Linked DNA regions of Homo sapiens: all the other regions are linked to region 1. Evidence: promoter capture Hi-C in 16 types of primary human blood cells and fetal thymus (Javierre and others, 2016). All regions are on one chromosome and are shown on one strand. Each heading gives the region's core, a stretch centred on a gene start or on the middle of the fragment in contact. The rest is flanking DNA. Distances are from core to core; before and after follow the strand shown.

Evidence for each region. Contacts are between HindIII fragments. The CHiCAGO score rates a contact against its expected background, and 5 or more counts as called.
Region 2: a fragment that was not itself captured here is called in contact with the fragment with the promoter of TEPSIN in region 1 in 1 of 17 cell types (monocytes); the score reaches 5.7 in monocytes.
Region 3: a contact is called between the fragment with the promoter of FSCN2 here and the fragment with the promoter of TEPSIN in region 1, in 1 of 17 cell types (endothelial precursors). The highest score is 6.4, in endothelial precursors.
Region 4: a contact is called between the fragment with the promoter of MRPL12 here and the fragment with the promoter of TEPSIN in region 1, in 1 of 17 cell types (non-activated CD4 T cells). The highest score is 5.4, in non-activated CD4 T cells.

What each region holds. Positions count from the first base shown.
Region 1 is chr17:81,237,683-81,240,382 of GRCh38, forward strand. TEPSIN (TEPSIN adaptor related protein complex 4 accessory protein) reads right to left here and starts at 1,373. Exons shown (of 13, transcript NM_001363764.2): 1 at 1,304-1,373. The coding sequence starts at 1,351. NDUFAF8 (NADH:ubiquinone oxidoreductase complex assembly factor 8) reads left to right here and starts at 1,636. Exons shown (of 3, transcript NM_001086521.2): 1 at 1,636-1,765; 2 at 1,886-1,996. The coding sequence starts at 1,682. RefSeq lists enhancers at 697-1,279, 1,523-1,742, 2,123-2,202 and silencers at 1,063-1,152, 1,255-1,470, 1,713-1,862. The HindIII fragment of the contact is 7,335 bases long and covers 1-2,264 here.
Region 2 is chr17:81,602,741-81,605,543 of GRCh38, forward strand. It overlaps NPLOC4 (NPL4 homolog, ubiquitin recognition factor), which reads right to left. Exons shown (of 17, transcript NM_017921.4): 8 at 1,808-1,987. Among named protein-coding and RNA genes, the nearest start is that of NPLOC4, 33 kb to the right of the region's middle. The HindIII fragment of the contact is 5,992 bases long and covers 1-2,803 here.
Region 3 is chr17:81,526,886-81,529,655 of GRCh38, forward strand. FSCN2 (fascin actin-bundling protein 2, retinal) reads left to right here and starts at 1,492. Exons shown (of 5, transcript NM_012418.4): 1 at 1,492-2,472. The coding sequence starts at 1,647. RefSeq lists enhancers at 1,414-1,940, 1,941-2,466. The HindIII fragment of the contact is 29,205 bases long and covers 1-2,770 here.
Region 4 is chr17:81,701,917-81,704,616 of GRCh38, forward strand. It overlaps MRPL12 (mitochondrial ribosomal protein L12), which reads left to right and starts at 1,451. Exons shown (of 5, transcript NM_002949.4): 1 at 1,451-1,659; 2 at 2,328-2,514. The coding sequence starts at 1,586. It overlaps HGS (hepatocyte growth factor-regulated tyrosine kinase substrate), which reads left to right. Exons shown (of 22, transcript NM_004712.5): 22 at 1-205. RefSeq lists enhancers at 331-934, 879-948, 935-1,538 and a silencer at 1,439-1,818. The HindIII fragment of the contact is 11,363 bases long and covers 699-2,700 here.

The DNA of each region.
Region 1 (2,700 bases), core at 123-2,622:
GGTGGTTCTCCACGGAGGAGCTGCGCCACTTGGGTTAAGAAGGGACACAGCCCCCAGCCTCCCTGCACTTACCAGCATGTAAGGCTATTTGAAGGTACCTCTCCTGTACCTACCTACTGACTAGCAAAGCCAAACAAGGCCCAGGCAAGCCCCTTTTCCACACAGGGGACTATGAATCGTTCCACCTCCCCAGAGGCCGGAATGGCAGAGTGACAGCCGCTCAGCGTGACTAGCTCCATCGCTCCCCGAGAACCGACTGATGTCGTGTGTTTTACGTTCGCTTAGCGCAGACGTACTTATTTGTTTCATGCTTACTTACTGGCACAAAGATGTACGGTTTATAGGGATGAAAACTGGAACCACCCATTCTTGCATTATTCAGTATCAGGACAGAATAGAGTTCAAGAGTATTTAACAGGACAAGCATGGGACCCACCGCGTGAGGTGCCGAAGCCTTTCGGTCGGAAGGGCCGAGATCTAGTGACAACATACGAAAACGTGGACCTGAAGTGTTTCCCGAGGCTGTGGACACGCATCACTGACACTGTTTGCCCACCACGCCCTAAGGGGAGCTGCTGAGGTTTGCAGGTGACAGCTGACAACTGCAGAACGCAGCACAGAACGACTATGTCGAAACCTTGCACTGAGAGCCTTGACCAACCCTAGCGTGGCTTCTGGCAGCCCAAGGTCGCGCCCTGGGACCACCCAGCCCCCTCTGAGGTCCAGCCCAGGAAAGCTCAGGGCTGACAAAAGAGGGCAGTTTGCTCAGGACGACACCTGGGAACTCGCCCCGGCCTCTACTTCTCAGAGGGTTTACTAAGAGGGGCTTACAATGGTGCGTCCTTCTCTGTCCCTTCGAGACGTCTGTGTTCTCTGCAACCCAGGGGTGCCTCTCCAGGACCGGAGTCCTCTGAAACGCCACCGTCAGGGAGGACGGCGGGCTGCCAGCCCACCTGGGCGCCAGCAGCACGGACACAGCGGCTCCACGTCCACCGGGTCCGCCGCTCCTTCCCTCCCGTCGGAGGCCACTGAATGCTGGCCGAGGCCTGTTCGTTCCCCCAGGGTCTGGCTGTGCCCATCGCCCTTGCGCTCGGCGGGTCCGGCTTGGAAGGCCCGGCTTGGAAGGCCCCGGGACGGCGCGGCGGGCGGGCAGCTCAGGGGCGTCGGCGCGGGCGAAGGGGCCAGGAGCAGCTACCCGGCGCGGAGACGCAAGGTCAATGGCTCCGGCCCGGGGCGAGTCCGGGGAATGCGGCGCTCGAGAGGAGCCGTGGGACCGGGGCCCGGGCGGACCGCCCTCACTCACCCGGTGTAGAAAGCTCAGGCGGTCCCGTAGCGGCGGCGCGGCAGCCATGATCCAGGTCCCCTCCCGGTCTGCCCCGCTTCCGCCAGGCCCGGGCCCTCCAATCACTGCGCGGGTCTGGGTCCGCCGGCCAATCCCTCACGGTAGGGCGGGCCCTGAGGTTGGCTTCGTAAACAATTGGAGCCTAGGCCAATCCGAAGTCCCAGAGCACAGACAGACTAGGACAAGAGCCAATTGCGGGGGCTCGAGGCCAGGCAAAGCCTGGCCAATTAAGAAGTTCAGGAAAGGTTATGGGCGGAAGCGCCGACCTATCAAGCTGTTTGACACCGGAAGAGGACGGACCTAAGATGGCGGCCTCCAGGGGGCTGGGAATAGCCGCTCATGTCGGCTAACGGAGCGGTGTGGGGCCGCGTGCGAAGCCGCCTCCGCGCCTTCCCCGAGCGGCTGGCCGCCTGCGGGGCCGAGGTGAGGAGCCGCGGGCGGGCCAGTGCTGCGGGGCAGGAGGAGCCGCGCGGGGAGGTGGCTGGGAGGGAGGACGGTGACGGGGTCAGGGGACCCCACGACCCACGCCCGTCCTTTCCGCAGGCCGCGGCGTACGGCAGGTGCGTGCAGGCCTCCACGGCCCCGGGCGGCCGCCTGAGTAAGGACTTCTGCGCGCGGGAGTTCGAGGCCCTGCGGAGCTGCTTCGCCGCTGCGGTAGGTGGGCGCGGGCCCCTTCCCCCCTTCCCAGCCCTTCCCCTCCAAGAGCCAGCGGGCCCCGGCTTTCCTTTGCTTTCCCGTTGGTTCAAGGTTTGAGCGCCTGCCGCGTGCTTTAGACGCCGGCTGACAAAATCACCGAGCCATCGACGAGCCCGCGAAACCTCGGCCGTCCTGGGCTTGTCCCTGCATGTTTGTAAAGCGGGACTGGCACCAACCTCAGAAAGGATGGGAGATGTGTGCAAAAAAGCGCCTTGTAAAACGCGTAAGCTTTCGTGTTAGCACTGCCGCCGGGGGGTGTCATGCCAGGATTGACCCAACACAGGACTCCCGGAAAGTGCCCAGCACCTTCCGGGTCTTCACCTCCCTGGCACTTGCAGCCCCTGTGCACCTGCAGTGGTGGATTCCTTCAGCACGTGTCCTGCGGGGAACCCCCAGCCACCCTCACAACTGGCACGATAGGGCTTCTTGCCCGTGGGGCTTTAAGTCATTCTGAGGCTGGTTCCCTAAGTGTCAGCCGCACCGGGTACCACCTCAGTGTATCTGGGTAGGCCTTGATGCCAGTGCTGACTCTGTTTACTGGGAGCTGTTAATCCGGAGATTTGGACCAGAGAAAGGGTATTTGAACAAGAGTTCCACGGCCTTCATCCCTACCCGGCCCCAGCAGCCTTGGATCCAGGGGTGGACAACTCATCAGAAGTTGC
Region 2 (2,803 bases), core at 117-2,616, 370 kb after region 1:
CCAACTAAAAAGATTTAGGCTGAGCATGGTGGCTTATGCTTGTAATCCCAGAATTTTGGTAGGCTGAGGCGAGTGAACTGTGTGAGCCCAGGAGTTCCAGACAAGCCTGGGTAACATGGCGAGATCTGTCTCCACACACACTATATATGTATATACACATACATACATATATATGTATATATACACACACACATATATATATACACACACATATATATACACACATATATATACACAAATACACACACACACACACACACACACACACACACACATATAAAAGTCAGACATGGTGGTGCACGCCTGTAGTCCCAGACACTTGGGAGGCTGAGGCAGGAGGATTGCTTGAGCCCAAGAGGGCTGCAATTGAGGCTGCATTGAGCCATGATGGCAGTACTGCACTCCAGCCTGAGCAACAGAGTGAGACGCTGTCTCAAAAAGAAAAAGGTTTTAAATTCTAGGGGCTACCTATAAAGGAAAGCAGGGTAAAAGGAAATGAATATACCTTGTTTGTAAACATGACTTTGGAAATGTGCACTTTTTTTTTCTTTTCTAACTTTTAAAAATATTTCTGGCTGGGCACAGTGGCTCCTACCTGTAATCTCAACACTTCAGGAGGCCAAGATGTGAGGGTCACTTGAGGCCAGTAGTTCAAGACCAACCTGGGCAATATAGCGAGACCCTGACTCTACCAAAAATTTAAAAACTAGCTTGGCATGGTGGCATGCACCTGTAGTCCCAGCTACTCAGAAGGCTGAGGCAGGAGGATCGCTTGAGCCCAGGAGGTCAAGGATGCAGTAAGCTATGACTGCACAACTGCACTCCAGTCTGGGCAACAGAGCAAGACTCATCTCTAAAAAATAAATAAATAAAAATTAAAAATTTCTAACATACAGCTAATTTAAAGAATTTTACAGTGAATACTCATATACCCACCACTAGATTCACCATGAACATTTCCTATGCACTATCTGTCCCTCTAGTCACCCATCAATTCATTTTATTTTTCTATTGGATTTCAAGTGTATTACAGACATAAATGTACTTCTCCCTAAATAGTACAGCATGCATATCATTAACTAGCATTCAATATTTGCTTACTTTTTTACTTTTGCAATAAAATGTATGTAAAATACACTACATCATTATACATAATTACAAAACAAATTGAAATTTATATAAATATACACACACAGCCCAATTCCCAAAAACCAGAAATACAATGTGTAACTAGTTGGTGGCATAATCATACCGAGAGGGCCTTCCAATGACTTCCAAGCACAGTGACTAGATGTGCACACACCCTGCGGGATATACCCTCAGGACACTTCTTTCCCCTCCAAACAAATCTTAAATTGTTATCAGTCCTATTTTGGTGGCAGTTTTTGTTACTCTGGTGACACTCTGGTGATTGGTGCTGAGGTGTGTCTGTGGCCTTCTCCATGGTTCCTAAGACAGTGACTGCTGCATGGTGGAAGAGACACAGAATGACACAAGGACTGAGCACCTGGACACTACAGAGTCAATGAGCAAACCTGGACACAGCAGACGAGATAAAAACACTGGATCAATAGTGGCAAATGTACCGGTTGTGTAAGAAAATATCCTTATCCTTAGTAACATACACTGAAGGTTTTAGGAGCCATGATCTCACTCTCCAATAACTCAGAAAATGTTGTGCACGTGCACCGGTGTGTGACAAAGGGGGAACAAACAACAAAGCGAACAGGGCAAGGCCTCTCCGAAAGGGCGTCCCCCACAGCCTCCAAACACAGAAACTCAGGAACTTGAATCCCGTCATGTTTACCTGAGGTGGCTCATAAATCGCAGCCACTTCAGCCCTGATGCCAAGGGGAATGTCTTTGTGCTCCGTGTACCGTCCGTATAAGTACCCAAAATGCTGGTTCCCTGTCTTTCTCCAGAAGTCAAGAAAGCGGTCAGCGACGGTGTGATTCTCAAACATGATATTGTCCACATGCCTGTACTTCTGTAGAGTTAACAAGAGTGGGCTGATGAAAACATGCCATCAAAAAGAAATCACTTGTTTTTCTAACACAAACCATTCATAAATATCTTTTACCTAGTTCTTTAAAAAACAAACCAATAGGGTGTGATGGTGCATGCCTGTGGTCCCAGATACTCAGGAGGCCGAGGCTAGAGGATCGCTTAAGCCCAGGAGTTCAAGTCCAGCCTGGGTGACAGAGTGAGACCCCTTGTATCTTAAAAAATAAACATCTGGGCTGGGCGCAGTGGCTCACGCCTGTAATCCCAGCACTTTGGGAGGCCAAGGCGGGCGGATCATGAGGTCAGGAGATCAAGACCATCCTGACCAACATGATGAAATCCCGTCTCTATTTTTTTTGTATTTTATAAAAATACAAAAAATTAGCCAGAGCCAGGCGTGGTGGCGGGCGCCTGTAGTCTCAGTTACTCGGGAGGCTGAGGCAGGAGAATGGCGTGAACCCGGGAGGTGGAGCTCGCAGTGAGCTGAGATGGCGCCACTGCACTCCAGCCTGGGCGACAGAGCAAAACTCCATCTCAAAAAAAAAAAATAAATAATAATAATAATAATCTGCTATTCTATTTAAAAATAAAAACAATAAACATTACTTAAGAAAAAAACCAGTCAGGCACGGTGGCTCATGCCTGTAATCCCAGCACTATGGGAGGTGAGGCAGGCGGATCTCTTGAGTCCAGGAGTTAAACCTCAAAAATTATTCAATACAGTGAAACCCTGTCTCTACTAAAAATACAAAAATTAGCCAGGCATGGTGGCTCATGCCTGTAATCCCAGCTACTCCGG
Region 3 (2,770 bases), core at 242-2,741, 290 kb after region 1:
GAGGCGGATGAGGCCAGCACACAGGGAGAGGCGAGAGCAGGCCCTGGCGTCGTGGCGTACGCTGTGCCCTGGGGGGTATTTGCATGTGGGAGTCTCTCTGCCCCCACCCTGGCCCCTGAGCGTGGGGACAGTGGGGACAGGTCTCCTCTTTTTCCTCCCCTGTGTCTGCAGGTGCCTGGCACGGTTGCTGTCCAGGGCTTAGAGGACAGAGGAAGAGCCCCTGAGTCTGTGCACACTCTGCCACCATGGCCCTGCCCACCTCTGGAGCCCACAGGTGCCCAGCCCAGGCCCCTTGCTTTTGGCTAGACTCCTGCCCTACGGGGACCCCCATGATGGCCACTCAGGAGATGGGCCCAGGAGGACAGGGGAGTGACTCCAGGCCATGACCGGAAGGGGCCTGTGGCCCCTGTTCCCAGTCCCCAGGGAGACGGGAGGGTCACACGCTGTTATGAGGAAGAGGACACCGGGCTGGCCCTGGCCCAGGGTGGCCAGCTCTGGTTTCACTACTTGGCCCCAAGCCCCTGAGGCAGGTGCAGGAGCCAGGCACGGTGAGCAGGGCCCAGTGCCCCTCAGGCTCTGGGGAAGGGGTACAGCCAGGTGGCCCAGAGCAAGGAGGTGCTGTAGACAGGTGTGACCACTTCCAGTCTCTCCCGGCCTGCTGGCCTTCATCCTCTCCCAGATTCCAAGGGCCACCGCTGGGAGCATGGGGTGGACATCGTCCCACCAGCCTCCTGGATCCACATCCGTAAAGACTCCAAAGTGAAGTGAGGCTGGCTTCACTCCAGCTCACAGCAGAGGAGGGGGCAGCCTCAGGGCCCAGCAACTTGCTCAGAGCGCACAGGAGTGCGCTGGGGCCGGGCCAGCCTGGCCCAGGGCCTCTGACTCTGCCCCCTGCCTGCAGGGCTGCACGGCCACTGTGTTCCACCCTCCAGCGTGGGTGGCAGTCCAGTGCGTCATTCTGGGGCCTGAGCAGTGTGGCCAGAGGCCGGTCTGGGGTGGAGGCGACCTGGGCTGCAGGTTGTGGCTGGGGTCCTTGCTATGCTTCTGGCAGCAGGAATCAGAGAAGCAGTAACTGGATCCAGCTGAGGGCCTGGCGGCCACCGAGGGTACGGGCGGCGATCAGGTTGCGGCCGAGCCGTGAGCGTTCCACTGGACGGCTTCTACATCCGGAAGGGCTGGGCCGGGCCGGGCCGGGAGCCCACACGGGGTTGGAGGAGGGGGGCAGGAACGAGAGAGGCCAAAAGGTGCAGGGCCGTGAAGAGGGGCGCTGGGCCCACGCTATGAGGAAAAGGGGATCAACCCTGCCCTCCAGCCCCGTAGGCCCTCAGGCCCTCGGGCTCTGGGCTCTGTGCAATCCGGGAGTGGCTGAAATCCAAGCTGAGGGTAATGAAAGGTGCTGCTCCTAAGCCGCACGTCTCTGATCCGCCCTCCCCGCCCGCCCTCTGCTGCCCGCGGGCCCTCTAAGAGCTGCCCAGGCTGCTGCCGCGGGTCAGAGGCGGGTCAGAGCAGGCAGGGGGTTCGTGACGCCGGCTGGGTCTGGGGGCTGTGGGCCAGCCGAGCCGACCCGGGCTTCTGGGGGACCGCGGGGGCCGTGAGCACTCAGAGGGCGCATCCCAGGCCCCTCCGGGGACCCGGCCAGCCTGAAGATGCCGACGAACGGCCTGCACCAGGTGCTGAAGATCCAGTTTGGCCTCGTCAACGACACTGACCGCTACCTGACAGCTGAGAGCTTCGGCTTCAAGGTCAATGCCTCGGCACCCAGCCTCAAGAGGAAGCAGACCTGGGTGCTGGAACCCGACCCAGGACAAGGCACGGCTGTGCTGCTCCGCAGCAGCCACCTGGGCCGCTACCTGTCGGCAGAAGAGGACGGGCGCGTGGCCTGTGAGGCAGAGCAGCCGGGCCGTGACTGCCGCTTCCTGGTCCTGCCGCAGCCAGATGGGCGCTGGGTGCTGCGGTCCGAGCCGCACGGCCGCTTCTTCGGAGGCACCGAGGACCAGCTGTCCTGCTTCGCCACAGCCGTTTCCCCGGCCGAGCTGTGGACCGTGCACCTGGCCATCCACCCGCAGGCCCACCTGCTGAGCGTGAGCCGGCGGCGCTACGTGCACCTGTGCCCGCGGGAGGACGAGATGGCCGCAGACGGAGACAAGCCCTGGGGCGTGGACGCCCTCCTCACCCTCATCTTCCGGAGCCGACGGTACTGCCTCAAGTCCTGTGACAGCCGCTACCTGCGCAGCGACGGCCGTCTGGTCTGGGAGCCTGAGCCCCGTGCCTGCTACACGCTGGAGTTCAAGGCGGGCAAGCTGGCCTTCAAGGACTGCGACGGCCACTACCTGGCACCCGTGGGGCCCGCAGGCACCCTCAAGGCCGGCCGAAACACGCGACCTGGCAAGGATGAGCTCTTTGATCTGGAGGAGAGTCACCCACAGGTGGTGCTGGTGGCTGCCAACCACCGCTACGTCTCTGTGCGGCAAGGTAGGGAGGGCACAGGTGGCGACCTCCTGAGGGGTGCTGGGACCCCCCTGCTTCAGGGAGGAGGCCGTGGGGGTCTCACGGGGAGTGGTATCGTGTCTGTGCGTTCACATGTCTGTTCTGGGCTGGGGGTCCATGTGGGACATGTGTGGCCACTCAGGGTGTAGGTGGGTGGGCCTCGGGCCATGCCCAGGCGACCCCCACTGAGGGGTGGTGGCTTCAGGGTCAGAGGCAAGGGTTCCTGGCCTTTCTCAGCATAGCTGGAGAATGTCTCAGCCAAGCCCTGGGCAGCTGCGGAGTC
Region 4 (2,700 bases), core at 201-2,700, 460 kb after region 1:
CACCCCCCAAGCAGCCTGTGCCCTCTGGCCGCACTGTGAGCTGGCTGTGGTGTCTGGGTGTGGCCTGGGGCTCCCTCTGCAGGGGCCTCTCTCGGCAGCCACAGCCAAGGGTGGAGGCTTCAGGTCTCCAGCTTCTCTGCTTCTCAGCTGCCATCTCCAGTGCCCCAGAATGGTACAGCGATAATAAAATGTATTTCAGAAAGCATCAGCGTTTTTTCTTTAATTAATTTTTTTGAGATGGAGTCTCACTCTGTCACCCAGGCTGGAGTGGTGATCTCCGCTCACTGCAAGCTCCGCCTCCTGGGTTCAAGCGATTCTCGGGCCTCAGCCTCCCGAGTAGCTGGACTACAGGTGCACCCCATTACCATGCCTGGCTAGTTTTTGTATTTTTAGTAGCGACGGTGTTTCACCATGTTGGCCAGGCTGGTCGTGAACGCCTAACCTCAGGTGATCCACCTGCCTCGGGCTCCTAAAGTGCTGGGATTACAGGCATGAGCCACCGCGCCCGACCTGCATCAACGTTTGCTCAGGGGGCAGGTGGTCAGGCTGATGGCCCAGCTGCAGGCAGGGTCATTTCCAGCCTGCCCCTCCCTGAGGCTGCGTGCCAGGGTTCATGTGTGCCCTCCGCGGCTCTGCACTGACCCCGCCGGTAGCTGGGGAGGAGTTTGGGCTTGGCGCCTCCTTCGTGTAGTGGCTGAAGCTTCCCGGGTGCTCCTCATTCCTGGGAAGGGAGTCGGGTGATGGGAACGGTGGGAGCTCAGCGCTCCGAGTCTGCGGCCGGGGGCCAGCGGGGCTGAAACGCGCCTCCTGAGTGTTGAAAGCGGCAGGCGCCGGCCTTTGCACCCAGAGGCCAGGGCGTCTCACTCACCTTCACATCCAGGCCTCTTAGGGGAGCGCGGCTTTGGCTTTTCCAGGAAGGAATGGACTCCAACGGACAGGGAAAGAAGAAGTGTGGAGAGACGGGCAGGATAAGCAGGCACTGGGCCCAAGCCGCCCTTGGAGGCTCTGCCTGTTCTGATCTGAAGGCGGAGGCTCAGCCGTGCTCTCCCAGGAAGCCACCTGGGCGTTTGGGGCTTTAGCTAGGAAAGAGGATGTCGCCTGCGGCTGCGAAGGCGCCAAAGCCCAGACCTCGCGCCTCCGCCCGCGACGGCGGCACTGGGGGCCCGGAGCGGGCGGGAGACGTGGATTACTGCGGGCTTCGGGGCCCTAGCCTCGACCGCGACGTTCGCTCGCATCGCGTACGGACAGAAACCCGTGAGCGCTGAAGAAAGAACACCTGAATCCGGAGCCCCAGCCCCCGTCGCTCGTTTGCGCGACCCCAAAACCTGGCGGGACGAGGGTCGCCCGATGTCTAGCTGCCGCCACAGACGACGCTTTTGCGTCTGCGCAGCGCGCCGCCTTGTGGGTAATCTCAGGGTGAGACGAGGCTAGCGCGAGGTACGGCTAGAGCGTCATTTCCGGCTCGAATGCCCGGCAGCCGTGGCGGCTAGAGCGTTCCTCCCCAGCTCGAATGCCCGGCGGCCGAGGCGGCTAGAGCGTCGCCTCCTCCCGGGGAACCGCGTGTGACCTTCCAGCCCGCGGACCGATGCTGCCGGCGGCCGCTCGCCCCCTGTGGGGGCCTTGCCTTGGGCTTCGGGCCGCTGCGTTCCGCCTTGCCAGGTACGCGGGATCCTGGGGCGGTCCGGGCCGGCAGGCGGGTTAGGGGGCAGCCGGGCACTGAGGGGTCGATCCGGGCGAGGAGGGCGGCGGGGCCGGCCTCCCTGCAGCGGCCAGGCCGGGCTTGGGGGTCCCATCGGGGGCGCGGGGAGGAGGCCTCCCGGTGCGCACGCCCCTTCCCTCCTGGGCCGTGGAAAGCGCCGGGGTCGGCCCCAGATGACCTTGGACGATTCCCTGCTCCTCCCTTGGCCTCAGCCTTTTCCGCAGCAAAGGCCCATCCGTGGGTGCGGCGTTTTGCGGCCAGGGGCCCCCATGTTTTGGGAGGCTTTGCGCAGGAAGATGCACCTAAGTAATAGTTTCGCCACCGCTGGGTTGATGTAGTTCATTCAAACCAGAAACTTGAGGTTTGAGTGGTATGGCTGCAAATAAACACGTGGCTTTCTAAGGCTCTTTGAAGAATTTAAAGTAACTTGCAAATCTTATCAATACGGACCCCTTGAGGTCTGAGAACCCTGGACTGGGACCAAGGAGCTAGGTAATTTCCGGCCCTAGTGATTACCAGCCTGAGCTTATGGCACCCACCAGTCCCCCAGTTGTCCTGCCCCTCTGGTTTCTGCAGCCCCTTCCATTCCAGGACTGACAAGTCTGTTTTAATTGGGGGTGGGGGCTAGGCGACAGGTGCCATGTGTCTGTGCCGTGCGACATATGAGGAGCAGCGGCCATCAGAGGTGTGAGGCCCTCGCTGGTGCACCCCTGGATAACGCCCCCAAGGAGTACCCCCCCAAGATACAGCAGCTGGTCCAGGACATCGCCAGCCTCACTCTCTTGGAAATCTCAGACCTCAACGAGCTCCTGAAGGTATCGTGAGAGGGTGGCACAGACCCAGGGGCTGGAAGTTTCAGGGCCCCTGTGTTTTGTTCCTGGTGTATTTTGGGAGTTTGGTAAATTGTCAAAAGTGTGTTTGTCCAGGTGCAAGGTCCATGCCAGGCTAGTTGCCCCTCCTCAGTAGGTTCCGGCTGGTGTGAGGGCCAGCTGTGGACACTG